3 separate regions of the Homo sapiens genome follow, and regions 1 and 3 are each linked to region 2. The links are contacts of gene promoters, found by promoter capture Hi-C in blood cells and fetal thymus (Javierre and others, 2016). All regions are on one chromosome and are shown on one strand. The core of a region is centred on a gene start or on the middle of the fragment in contact, and the rest is flanking DNA. Distances in the headings are between cores, read along the strand shown.

Evidence for each region. Contacts are between HindIII fragments. The CHiCAGO score rates a contact against its expected background, and 5 or more counts as called.
Region 1: the fragment with the promoter of KCNH2 here is called in contact with a fragment that was not itself captured in region 2 in 2 of 17 cell types (naive CD4 T cells and non-activated CD4 T cells); the score reaches 5.2 in naive CD4 T cells.
Region 3: the fragment with the promoter of ASIC3 here is called in contact with a fragment that was not itself captured in region 2 in 1 of 17 cell types (non-activated CD4 T cells); the score reaches 7.1 in non-activated CD4 T cells.

What each region holds. Positions count from the first base shown.
Region 1 is chr7:150,976,189-150,979,835 of GRCh38, forward strand. KCNH2 (potassium voltage-gated channel subfamily H member 2) reads right to left here and starts at 2,133. Exons shown (of 15, transcript NM_000238.4): 1 at 1,650-2,133. The coding sequence starts at 1,725. It overlaps LOC124901776 (a long non-coding RNA gene), which reads left to right. Exons shown (of 3, transcript XR_007060592.1): 2 at 348-523; 3 at 657-1,167. RefSeq lists an enhancer at 1-431 and a silencer at 2,801-3,150. The HindIII fragment of the contact is 24,052 bases long and covers 1-3,647 here.
Region 2 is chr7:150,322,592-150,325,906 of GRCh38, forward strand. It overlaps ACTR3C (actin related protein 3C), which reads right to left and starts at 954. Exons shown (of 8, transcript NM_001164458.2): 1 at 878-954. LRRC61 (leucine rich repeat containing 61) reads left to right here and starts at 764. Exons shown (of 3, transcript NM_001142928.2): 1 at 764-969; 2 at 3,250-3,315. RefSeq lists enhancers at 1-93, 144-203, 1,524-1,593 and a silencer at 814-1,133. The HindIII fragment of the contact is 811 bases long and covers 1,322-2,132 here.
Region 3 is chr7:151,046,950-151,050,524 of GRCh38, forward strand. It overlaps ASIC3 (acid sensing ion channel subunit 3), which reads left to right and starts at 1,582. Exons shown (of 11, transcript NM_004769.4): 1 at 1,582-2,470; 2 at 3,157-3,307; 3 at 3,532-3,575. The coding sequence starts at 1,937. ABCB8 (ATP binding cassette subfamily B member 8) reads left to right here. Exons shown (of 16, transcript NM_007188.5): 16 at 1-833. RefSeq lists an enhancer at 3,094-3,575. The HindIII fragment of the contact is 11,911 bases long and covers 597-3,575 here.

The DNA.
Region 1 (3,647 bases), core at 883-3,382, 650 kb after region 2:
GCCCTCAGGTTGCAGCCCTAGGCAATCCTACGTGCAAAGCTGGGCTGCAGCAGGGCACCCTGAGATAGGCCCAGGCCATCAGGACTTGGCCTCCTCCCACCTTTCTCGATTCTCCCTTCCCCTGGCCCCCAGAAAGTTGCCTTTTGGAACTGGTTCATCTTTTGGCCAGTTCCCAAGGCCCCCCAGACCTCCCAGGCAGCCATCAATTCCAGGAGTCAGGGTTTCCTGTCACCTGAAAAGACCCCCTAACTCGGCCTCCAGCTCTGCCACAGTCCAAGGCAGTCCAGAGGCCCAGCCACACACCCCAGCTTCATAGAAGAAAAACCACCCCTTGTCCTCTCTCCCAGGCTGGGGAAAGAAGAGCAAGTTTCTTCGAAGGCATGCCCCACCCCACCACACACCCTTCACTGAGATCCTGGAATACAGGGATGGGACAGAAAGCCTGCCCCTCCTCCACAGACCTGGAACCTGAGACCCAAAGAGGGAAGAGTCACTCAAGGTCACATGGCAGTCAGTGGCAAAGGTAGGGCTAGAATCCAGCACCCCCCCCCACATCCATCCCAGCCTCCTCGTAGGCCCGCCCACAGCCTCCCCCTGGGCCCACCCCCACCTCTCAGGGAGGCCCTCAACCAGTGTCATTGTCTCCACCCCCTCAGGATCATCTTGTTCCTCCGCTTCACACAATACTGACCATCGGACTGACCCCTCCTTCCCCCAACCACCGTTACAAGCACGCGTTGTCCTGTGCTCACAGGGTCATGGACAAGGAATGTCATCCTCTCCCAACTCCCAGGGCCCTTGGCAGTCACACCCACTGTGGCTCATGCAGCCTTAGGGACAGGCACATGAATGCTGCCCACCCCCAGGACATTTGCCTAATCTGGGACCCTTCTAGAAGCCTCCCTACCAGGCAGGCATTAGGGGTGCTGTACTCCCGGTCCCCATAAGGGAATTAGGTGACAGTCTCCAGGGCAAGAAAACCCACAACTTGGGGGTACCACAGGGAGCTGCTTACCCTCAAAGCCCAGCTCTAGCCCCAGGACACCCTGTCTCCACAGAGCCCACAAGCTCGCAGCCTTGTCAAAGACACCTCCCCACCGCCCATACAGGGTCTAACTCACGGGTGACACATGGGCTCAGGGTTATATACACACGGCACACACAAGAAGAGATTATGAGCTGACCCTGCATCCACGGCTTTTCAGTCCCTCCGGCACAACACAGTCAAGATCTGGCAAGACCAGTGTGCGCGCTGGACTCTCGGGATCCCAGGGTTTGGGTCGTACACACTCTTATGCCCTTGCACACAGCCCCATCCACGTCCACGCACCCAGAGTTGGGGACACCTGCACACTCCATCCCACATCCCTTCCCTGCACACTCAGCGTGTCACACACACTCCGATCCCAAAAGCCTGAGCTGAGTTTCCCGCCCCAAGCCCCAACCCCAAACCCTTTGGCCCGGTGCCCACGGCCCCGGTGCACCAAGCCTTGCCCCCGCCGTCCCCTCGCCAAAGCCTGGGGCCCACCAGGCCCCATTGACTCGCACTTGCCGACGCACACGGCCCGGGCACGCCCCCCCATCCACACTCGGAAGAGCTCGGCCCGCCCCCAGAGCCCCCTCCCCGCTCAGCCCCCTCCCCCACTCACTCTGGCCCTCAAACTTGCGGATGATGGTGTCCAGGAAGGTGTTCTGCGGCGCGACGTGGCCCCTCCGCACCGGCATCCTGAGCCCATGGGCGGGCCGGGCGGGCCCCCACCCACCCCGGCCCGGCCCGGCCCAGCACTAGGCTTCGGGTGGCCCGGCCGGGCCGTGGTCCCCGCACCCCGCGGCCAAGCCGAGCACGGGCGCGGCCAAGACTGGACTGCGGGCGCCGGGTCCTCGCTCGGCTCCCGGCTCCCCGCTCCGGACCCCGGGCCCGGCCTGGAGCCGCCTGAGCGCGAGCCGCCCGCCGCCGGCACACCTGTCTGCCGGCCCCCGCCGAGCCGCGGGGCCCGCTCCGCCGCGTCCCCGCGCTGCGCTCCGCCCGCCCGAGCCCCGGACTCCTGGCTCCCGCCTGCCACCGCGCCGACAGCCGCTCCAGCGCCCGCGGCTCGGGCAGCGCCTGCGGCTCGGCCCGGCCGCGGAAGGGTTAATGCGGCGCGCGCCCCTCCGGCTCCGGCCCCCGCCTCCCGGCCCCCTCCCGCCTGCCGCGCGCCCGCAGCACCGCCCTCTCCCCCCCCCATCCCGCCCCACCGCGCGCGCCCGACCTTCCCATTGGCTGAGCCGCGCCGAGTGCTCCCCCAACGCCAGCCCCTCGCTCTGCCAAGGAGCCCCTGGGACTCGCGCGCCCAGAAGAGGGGGAAGGGACCCTTAGGCAGGGGAAACCGTGAGGACAGGTGCCATGGCCGGCTTGTAGGCGGCCGGGATGGGGGAAGGGATTCCACCCCCACCCCAGATTAGCGACTAAGAAACCTGATTTGAAGGGAAACGGCGGGTCCTTATGCCCTGGTTCCCCACCACGCCGAGCACTGGCTTGGTATACACAGCACGCGCTCAGTGCCTACTGTGGGTGACCGGGGCAACGCCTGGACCCTCGAAGACGAGCCCGGAGTCAAGGGAGACCCTGGAAATAGGAAAAGCAAGACAATCTGAAGGCCCCAGAGCAGCAGAGCTCTGAAATAAGGGAGGGTTAAACTTAGAAGGGGCACGCCCCCTGCCCCAACACACACACACACACACACACACACACACACACACACATACACACACACACACACACACACACACACACACACATACACACACACACACGGAGAGAGAGAGAGCCCTCTGTGGGGCTCTGCATAGGAGCTGCACAGAGAGGGACATTCTGACAGCAGTTGCGGCCTCCTAGCTGCAGGATCAAAGAGAGGTCCCTGAGCGCGAGGTTCCAACCAGGGGATCCCCGGGTGCGAGCGGCCCGCCCTCCCCCGGCAGCCCGGGGCCAGCCTTGCACGCCCAATCGGCGGGCTCGGGGCCCTGCGGCGGCGGCCACGGCCCAGCCCCTCGGAAAGCCCTGGCCTAGCCGCAGGCCCCTCCCCCCGGCCAGCTGGCTCGCTCCAGCTGCGGCTCCCTTATTTAGGCAAGGAGGCCTAGGGATGCTCAAGGGCAGGCGGGGTGTCTGCCCCGCCGCCTGCTCATCGCCTGCTTGCGTCTGAGTGAGGGTCTCCGGGCGCGGTGTCCTCGGACTTAGCAGTCAGGCAGGGCCCCGGGAAGGCCAGGGCGGGGAGGCGAGTGTTGACAGCTGAGTGGGCGGGCGGGGAGGGAGGAGTCGCAGCTGAACAGCCGAGGGTCCCCTCCCTGCAGCCGGATCAGAGACCTGTCTAGATGGATGGGGCCATGTGGGGGCTCCTGAGGGCTTGCAGCTGCCTCTGTCCTTGGAGCAGGGGCTGGGTCTTGTCACCAGCGAGAACCATCATGGGGGGAGGGGAAGAACAAAGGGCAGGGAAGGAATCGGAGTCCCGAAGGAGGAAGGCGCAGAAAACTGTCGTCGTGAGACCACCCTACCCGGACTCTCACCTTCCACCCAGGAGCACAAAGATGCAAACACTGGGGCCAAATGGGGCCACTGGCCAGCAGATGACACTCTTTTTTATTTGCTGGTGGGTGGGCAGTGACTCAGGGAG
Region 2 (3,315 bases), core at 477-2,976:
TTTCTCTGAAACTCATGAATAATTCAACCCTTGTTTAGCATATAATCAAGAAATAACCAAAAAATGGGTAACCAGTAGCCCTGGAGCTGCTCTGCCTATGGAGTAGCCATCCTTTTACTTCTTTGCTTTCTTAATAAACTTGTTTTCACTTTACTCTATGGGCTTGCCCTGAATTCTTTCTTGCATGAGATCCAAGAACCCTCTCTTAGGGCCTGGATCGGGACCCCTTTCTGATAACACCAGGAGACACCCTGGGTGGATTTCCTGAACCGACCGATAGATGAGCCTTCCACGCGGGAGACCTGGATCCTTATCGTCTTTGTGGCCCCTTCCATCTGCACGTGCGGACGAGGTCCGGGTCGCACTCGGGCGGTCAGCCTGGCACGCACAGCGCCGGCGTGCAGGGGGCCTTGGGTGCCACCGAGTCCGGGAGGAAATCTAGGCCGCCATCCGTCCGGAGACTGGCACCTGTGACCACCACCCAACATGTATTGAACAAGGGCTTGGAGGTCCTTTCTCTAAGGCCGCACCGATAAACGATTACCGACTGTTGACCTCACGGCCCCTTCGCTTCCGGCCGCACCGCCTCGCTGCCCACGCCTGCGCACTCAGGCACCGCAGGTAGGAGGAACGTACCAACTGCGAGGCGGGGGGTGCGCGCGAAGACCCCCGCAGGCTGCGCTTCCGGAAGTAACCCCTGGCGCATCCCGGAATCCAGAGCGCCCACTACGGCCTTTGGCCAGGCCCCCTGGGCGCGTTCCGGGAGCTCAGGCCTGCGGCGCTGGGAGAAGCACGCTGGCCAACAAGTTGGGTGGTGGGCACGCGGCCCAGGGGTCAGGGGCCGCCAGGCGGCGGGCGGCGGGGCTGCGGCTCTTACCTGCCGAGGAGGCGCCGGCTCTGCGGTGCGGAGTTGCGCCGGACTTCCCAGCTTGGCCAGTGGCTCCGCAGGCTGCCGGCTCCACCCCTCAGGTAAGCGGGGACTGGGCCGCCGAGGTTCAGGGAAGGGGGCGGCTGTCGGGGCCCGTGCCGGCCCCGGGGGGCCACCTGCTGGGCCAGCGGTGCCCTCGCGCCGAAACACACTGGGAGAGGCCAGAATCTTCCGGAACAGCCAGCCCTTACCCATCTCTCCCTCTGTGCCGAGAACTGCCCTGAAATACTGTGGTATTAATTAACTCGTTTAACACTAACAATCTCATGAGGCGGGTGCTGTTACTATTCCCGTAATGTAGACGAGGAAACCGAGGCGTGTGCTGGAGCAGGATCACGGCCGTGCTCAGAGACGGGCTCTGGATGCCATGCTCTGACTCCATTGTTAGCCCTAAGCTTCCAGAAAGTAGCAGAGTGCTGCCGTGTCGTTTGTAACAGATCTCACTTTGTGTCATTTTTTTTGCACAGTATGAAACCTAATGATGCATGATTATTATTTAAAACATCTTGCTTAGACTTTATAAGTAGTCAAATTTGCGTGTGGGACAAAACCCCAAAACATGCAATGGCTTGCTCTCCTCTTTTCCTTTCACACGTTCATCTCCTCCTATCCCTTTCTCTCACCACCTTTCAATCTTCTCACAGATGTTGTGGAGGAAGATGAGACTTGAGGGCCCAGCAGGTGCTTAAAATCCCCTGCCTGGTGGGGGTGGAGTAGACACTCTGTCCCCCTGCAGTGCTGGAGTTGAGAGCAGAGGGGCTGGAGAGGGACTGGGCGGAGTGAGAAAGGCCTGGCATAATCATGGAATGCCCAGGGTGGGGTTCTACTTCTCTTGCAGGCACAAGAGAAGTAGAAGAGTGGCCGCTTTCCTTCTGGGCACGCACTTGGGAAAAGGCTTGGTGAGAGCAGCGAGAAGAATAGGTCTAATTTCTTGAGCCAGTGTGCGGAGGTGCTTCCCAGCCCAGGCTAAGCCAGATCACTCAGCCAGCCGCTGGCTGCCTTTACAGATGTACGGCTCCCCGTGAGCAATCAACATGCCTGGCTCTCAGGCATAAGCTGCCTCACTTCCCTTCTGCACAGCACTCCAGGACTTGCCTGCTACCAGACCCATCCTACTTTCTCTGTCAGGAAAAATGAGAGTTCTTCCTGGTCTCTTGAGGCCAATCCCTTCCACCGCCTGTGCCCTGGATCCCTTTCTCCAGGAAGCTTCTCTTCCCTGTGTAGTTAGCCTCCCCGCTCTTCCCAGGTCACCTTCTCTCTGTTTAGGGACAGAGCCAAGCCTTTTCCCTCCCATCCCCACCTCCAGCATTCCCGGTTCCTGCTTCTCCCCCACTTCCTGCTGTACCGCCCACTGAAGGGACCTTTGACCCCGCTGACCACTGCTTTTGGAAAGTCTTTTCTTGGTTTCCCTAACTTCACTTTACTTTGGTTTTTCCTTGTCTCTCCCCTCTGCCTCTCAGTCACCTTTGAGATCTGCTCATCCTCTCACCTCCCTGTATTGTCAGCATTACCTGGGCAGCCCCCTCTGGTGTTTTCCTTCAGTTTCTCTAGAAACTTGCCTGAAGATTTGCCCCAAAATAGCCCACATGGACCTGTATGAGGAAAGAGGCTCACTGTGGAGGCGCTCTCCATCATTCCTCCTCTTCCACTTGAGGCTTAGGCATGGGCCACCTCCTGAACAGCTCTCCCCACAGTCTCCTCCATGCATTGTGCCATCACCCCGCCCTGCCGTCACCCCGGCCTGGCCCGCTTTCCCTTTTGCCTCCCAGGGATGTGCCTGCTTCCCATGTGGCCTGGCTAGGGCGCTTTCCTGACTGCTGCCCACATGATCGACTATGGGCAGGCGTGCAGCCCAAAAGGCCGTGCTTCAGCTTAGAAGCCCTTGGAATCTTGTCTTGTTGTGGTTGTAGGCCTCCAATGTGTTGTCAGCTGTGGTGATGTGTGTCACAAGTAACTTCTTTTTTTTGAGACAGGGTCTGGCTCTGTTGCTCAGGCTGGAATGCAGTGGTGCAATCACGGCTCACTGCAATCTCCACTTCCCTGCTCAAGCCATCTTCCTGCCTCAGACTGCCAAGAAGCTGGGACCACAGGCACAGGCCATCACAGCTGGCTGATTTTTTTGTATTTTTTTTGTAAAGACAAGGTTTCGCCATCTTGCCCAAGCTGGTCTCAACCCCCTGAGTTCAAAGCAGTCCACCCACCTTGGCTTCCCAAAGTGCTAGGATTACAGGCGTGAGCCACCACACCTGGCCACAAGTAACTTCTTAGTTATAAAGTACTGAAATTTATCAATGACTTTCTTTTTAAAATTTACGTTTTAGATTCATTTGGATTCAAGGTTGGCTCTCAACAGTGCCAGCTGCACTGTCATCCTAAAGTACTTCTGT
Region 3 (3,575 bases), core at 332-2,831, 720 kb after region 2:
TTTAAGCAGTGGAGGTCCAGGAGCAGAGCCTGGGGCTGGTTCACAGCTAAACCCCTCCTTAGGGCAGCCCAGAGTAGGGCCTCAGCTGGCAAGTCCACAAGCCCTGCTGGGGCCCTGCTTGTTGGCCTGACCCCTCCCTCACCAGGCAGCCAGCCAAGGTGGTTCCTGCTTCACCCACTCAGTCATCAGCCTCAGGCTGCCCAAAATGCCTCTGACACCAGATTTATATCTTCTGGGCGGCTTCTTTAAATCCAGCCCTTCACCCGCCCCCTAGAGAAGCAGTGAAACCCCTTGGCTAGTCCAGCTGGAAGAGCTAGACCGCAGGAGCCGCGCCGTCTTCCTAACCTCGCCTCGGCCTTCGCTCCACAGTGGAGAGTGGGAGCCTAGCTGTGCTTGATGCTGAATGCCTGTTTTGAGAGTGTGAGTGGGATCATCTACAGTAAATACTTGCAAAGCATGGCACTGTGGCTCTGGGGAGCTGGTACGCCTGTGCTGTAACCATGGTACTCAGTCCTTCCAAAGTGTTTATTAATCAAGCACCTGTCATGTGCCATTGAGCCCACGATGGGGAATGAGGACAGTCCCTGCCCCCATGAAGCTTGTGTCCTGTTGGGAGGACAGACAGGTGGCCCAGCAGTTGCAGCATGGTGTGTGCACACGTTTGGCTGGTGGAACCATGTTTCTACCACTCATGGTCAAAAAAAGCCCACCAAAGTCCTGGGAGTTCACATCTGTGTGATGATACGGCAACATTGTTTGTAATGGAAAGACTGGACACCCCCAGTGCCCATCAGTGGGGGAGTCATTAAATAAACTATGGTATGTGCACATAATGGGTGGTATGCAGCCCTTTGGAAAAATGTAGGTTTTCCAGGTCCTGGATATAGCAGCGTAAGATGGGAAATCACAGAATACCCATGTTGTGCCTGAGATGGCAGGTGGGGTACCCGTGGTACCCGGGAGGGTGGCAGGTGGGGCACCCATGTTCTACCTGGGGTGGCAGGTGAGCCCATAACCATTGTAGAGGCCAACATCCTCAGAGGCCTGAGTGTGGGGAGGTAGGCTTTGACTCCCTAGGGAGAGAGGGACACTTAGGAAACAGACGGGCCCTGGAAGTGGGACATGAAGAGTGCCCTGGCCATCCAGTGTAGGCTGAGATGCTAGGGGCACAGAAAGAAGAGATCTGCTGATGCCAGCCTTCCAACCATTTCCCAGCTTGGCCAAGAGCCAGCTCTGGTATTCGTGAAGGAACAGATCCTGGGTGAAGCTAGAGGGAAGGCCGCAGAGGCAAAAGGAGAGAGGAGCTAGGCCAGGGGTCAGCGACTGACCCTCGCGGCCAGTGTACAGGGGTTGCAACTGGGAGCCTAGGGGGCCCCAAGGCATCTCCAGGCCCAATCTACCTCTGGGCTTTTCTCAAGCTCTCCCTAGGATTACTGCGGTTTCCTCCTGGCGCCTCTCGTCTTGGACAGCCATGCCCCCCTCCATGCTGCACTAATGGCTCAGCCTGGGGCCCTAGGGACCTCTCCTACCCCCCAGACTGCTCTGTCGGCCCCCTTTCCCCCCTACTGCTGAAACCCAATCCTCTGCAGCAGCGCCGGCTCAGCACCGCCGGCTCAGCACCGCTCCGCAGCCCCTGCCTGCCACGGTCAGCTACGTCCCACCTGGTCTGCTGCGGAGTCCCCAGCCCAGTGCCTAGCCCAGTGGAGCCACCGCCTGTTCCTCGGGAAGGAACAGTGGGACCTGACCGGCCAGATCACCTCCTCCAATCCTGCCAGGCTAGTGCCTCCCTGCCTTCCAACCTTGGCTGTCTCCCACCCTCTCTTCTCCTCTCCTTGCCTGGCCTCCTGAATCCTATCTTAGCCTCCTTAGCCCCCTGACTGACTCTCTCTCGCTTCTTCCAAGCCTCTGTAGCTGGTTCCGCTCCTGGGTTCTGGCCATGAAGCCCACCTCAGGCCCAGAGGAGGCCCGGCGGCCAGCCTCGGACATCCGCGTGTTCGCCAGCAACTGCTCGATGCACGGGCTGGGCCACGTCTTCGGGCCAGGCAGCCTGAGCCTGCGCCGGGGGATGTGGGCAGCGGCCGTGGTCCTGTCAGTGGCCACCTTCCTCTACCAGGTGGCTGAGAGGGTGCGCTACTACAGGGAGTTCCACCACCAGACTGCCCTGGATGAGCGAGAAAGCCACCGGCTCATCTTCCCGGCTGTCACCCTGTGCAACATCAACCCACTGCGCCGCTCGCGCCTAACGCCCAACGACCTGCACTGGGCTGGGTCTGCGCTGCTGGGCCTGGATCCCGCAGAGCACGCCGCCTTCCTGCGCGCCCTGGGCCGGCCCCCTGCACCGCCCGGCTTCATGCCCAGTCCCACCTTTGACATGGCGCAACTCTATGCCCGTGCTGGGCACTCCCTGGATGACATGCTGCTGGACTGTCGCTTCCGTGGCCAACCTTGTGGGCCTGAGAACTTCACCACGGTGAGCTGACCTCCCTACCTATCCTGCCAGGGACCCAGAGAGCCGACCAGTCCCTGCCCAGCACCCACAATTCCCTAGCCAGCACAGGCTCCCCCAAAGCCAGGGGACCTCTTCCTTCCTACCAGCCATGGACTCCCCACCCCCCAGTGCCACTCCGTGCAGCCCAGGAAGCTGTCCTCCTTGGGGCTTTCTCTGTCTCCCAGCCCGAGGGGAGCATGTGAGGCCACACTGACCCCGGCTGGCCCTAGGCCTGAGGTCTGGCCCAGGGAGGCCCTGCTCCTGGGGCTGGGGGTCCTCCATGGTGGGACCATTCTGGGGCAGAAGACCCCTATCTCTGCCAGGAGGTGGGGGGGGCTTGCTTTCCCTCTGCCTTTTCAACATACTGCCAGCCCCGGAGGACAGCCACAGGGGCCCATTTCCTTTTCCTGCAGTTCCCAGAGAAACACAGAAAAACCTGTAGGCTGTGCCCTGGGCTTTGGTGGGGATTGGCGGGGTGGAGGAGCTGAGTTGATGGGCTCCCAAGAGCGTCCTGCAACATGTGCCCACTGGAGCGTGGGGCTGGGGGCATTGAGATGCGGGCTTCAGTATTCAAAGAAGAGACGCAAACATACCATGAGGTGGGGAGAGGTCCCATGACCATGTGCCTGCCTGGGGGAGATGGCCATCACCCTGTCTGCCCGCCCCAGATCTTCACCCGGATGGGAAAGTGCTACACATTTAACTCTGGCGCTGATGGGGCAGAGCTGCTCACCACTACTAGGGGTGGCATGGGCAATGGGCTGGACATCATGCTGGACGTGCAGCAGGAGGAATATCTACCTGTGTGGAGGGACAATGGTAGGGAGCACACAAATGAGGCTGGGGGAGGGCACGGATGGAGTGCAAAAGGCTAGGGGAAGGAGAGGAGGAGAGGAGGTGTCAGGGTGTTCCCCCAGAACCTGTGAAAGGGGCTGGGCTGGCTCATCCCAGTCCTGGGGAGAGGGGCTGCAGTGAGAGGTCTTGTCTGGTTGGGCAGGAGACCTGACCACACAGGTCAGGCCTCACAGGTCCCTCCCCGACAGAGGAGACCCCGTTTGAGGTGGGGATCCGAGTGCAGATCCACAGC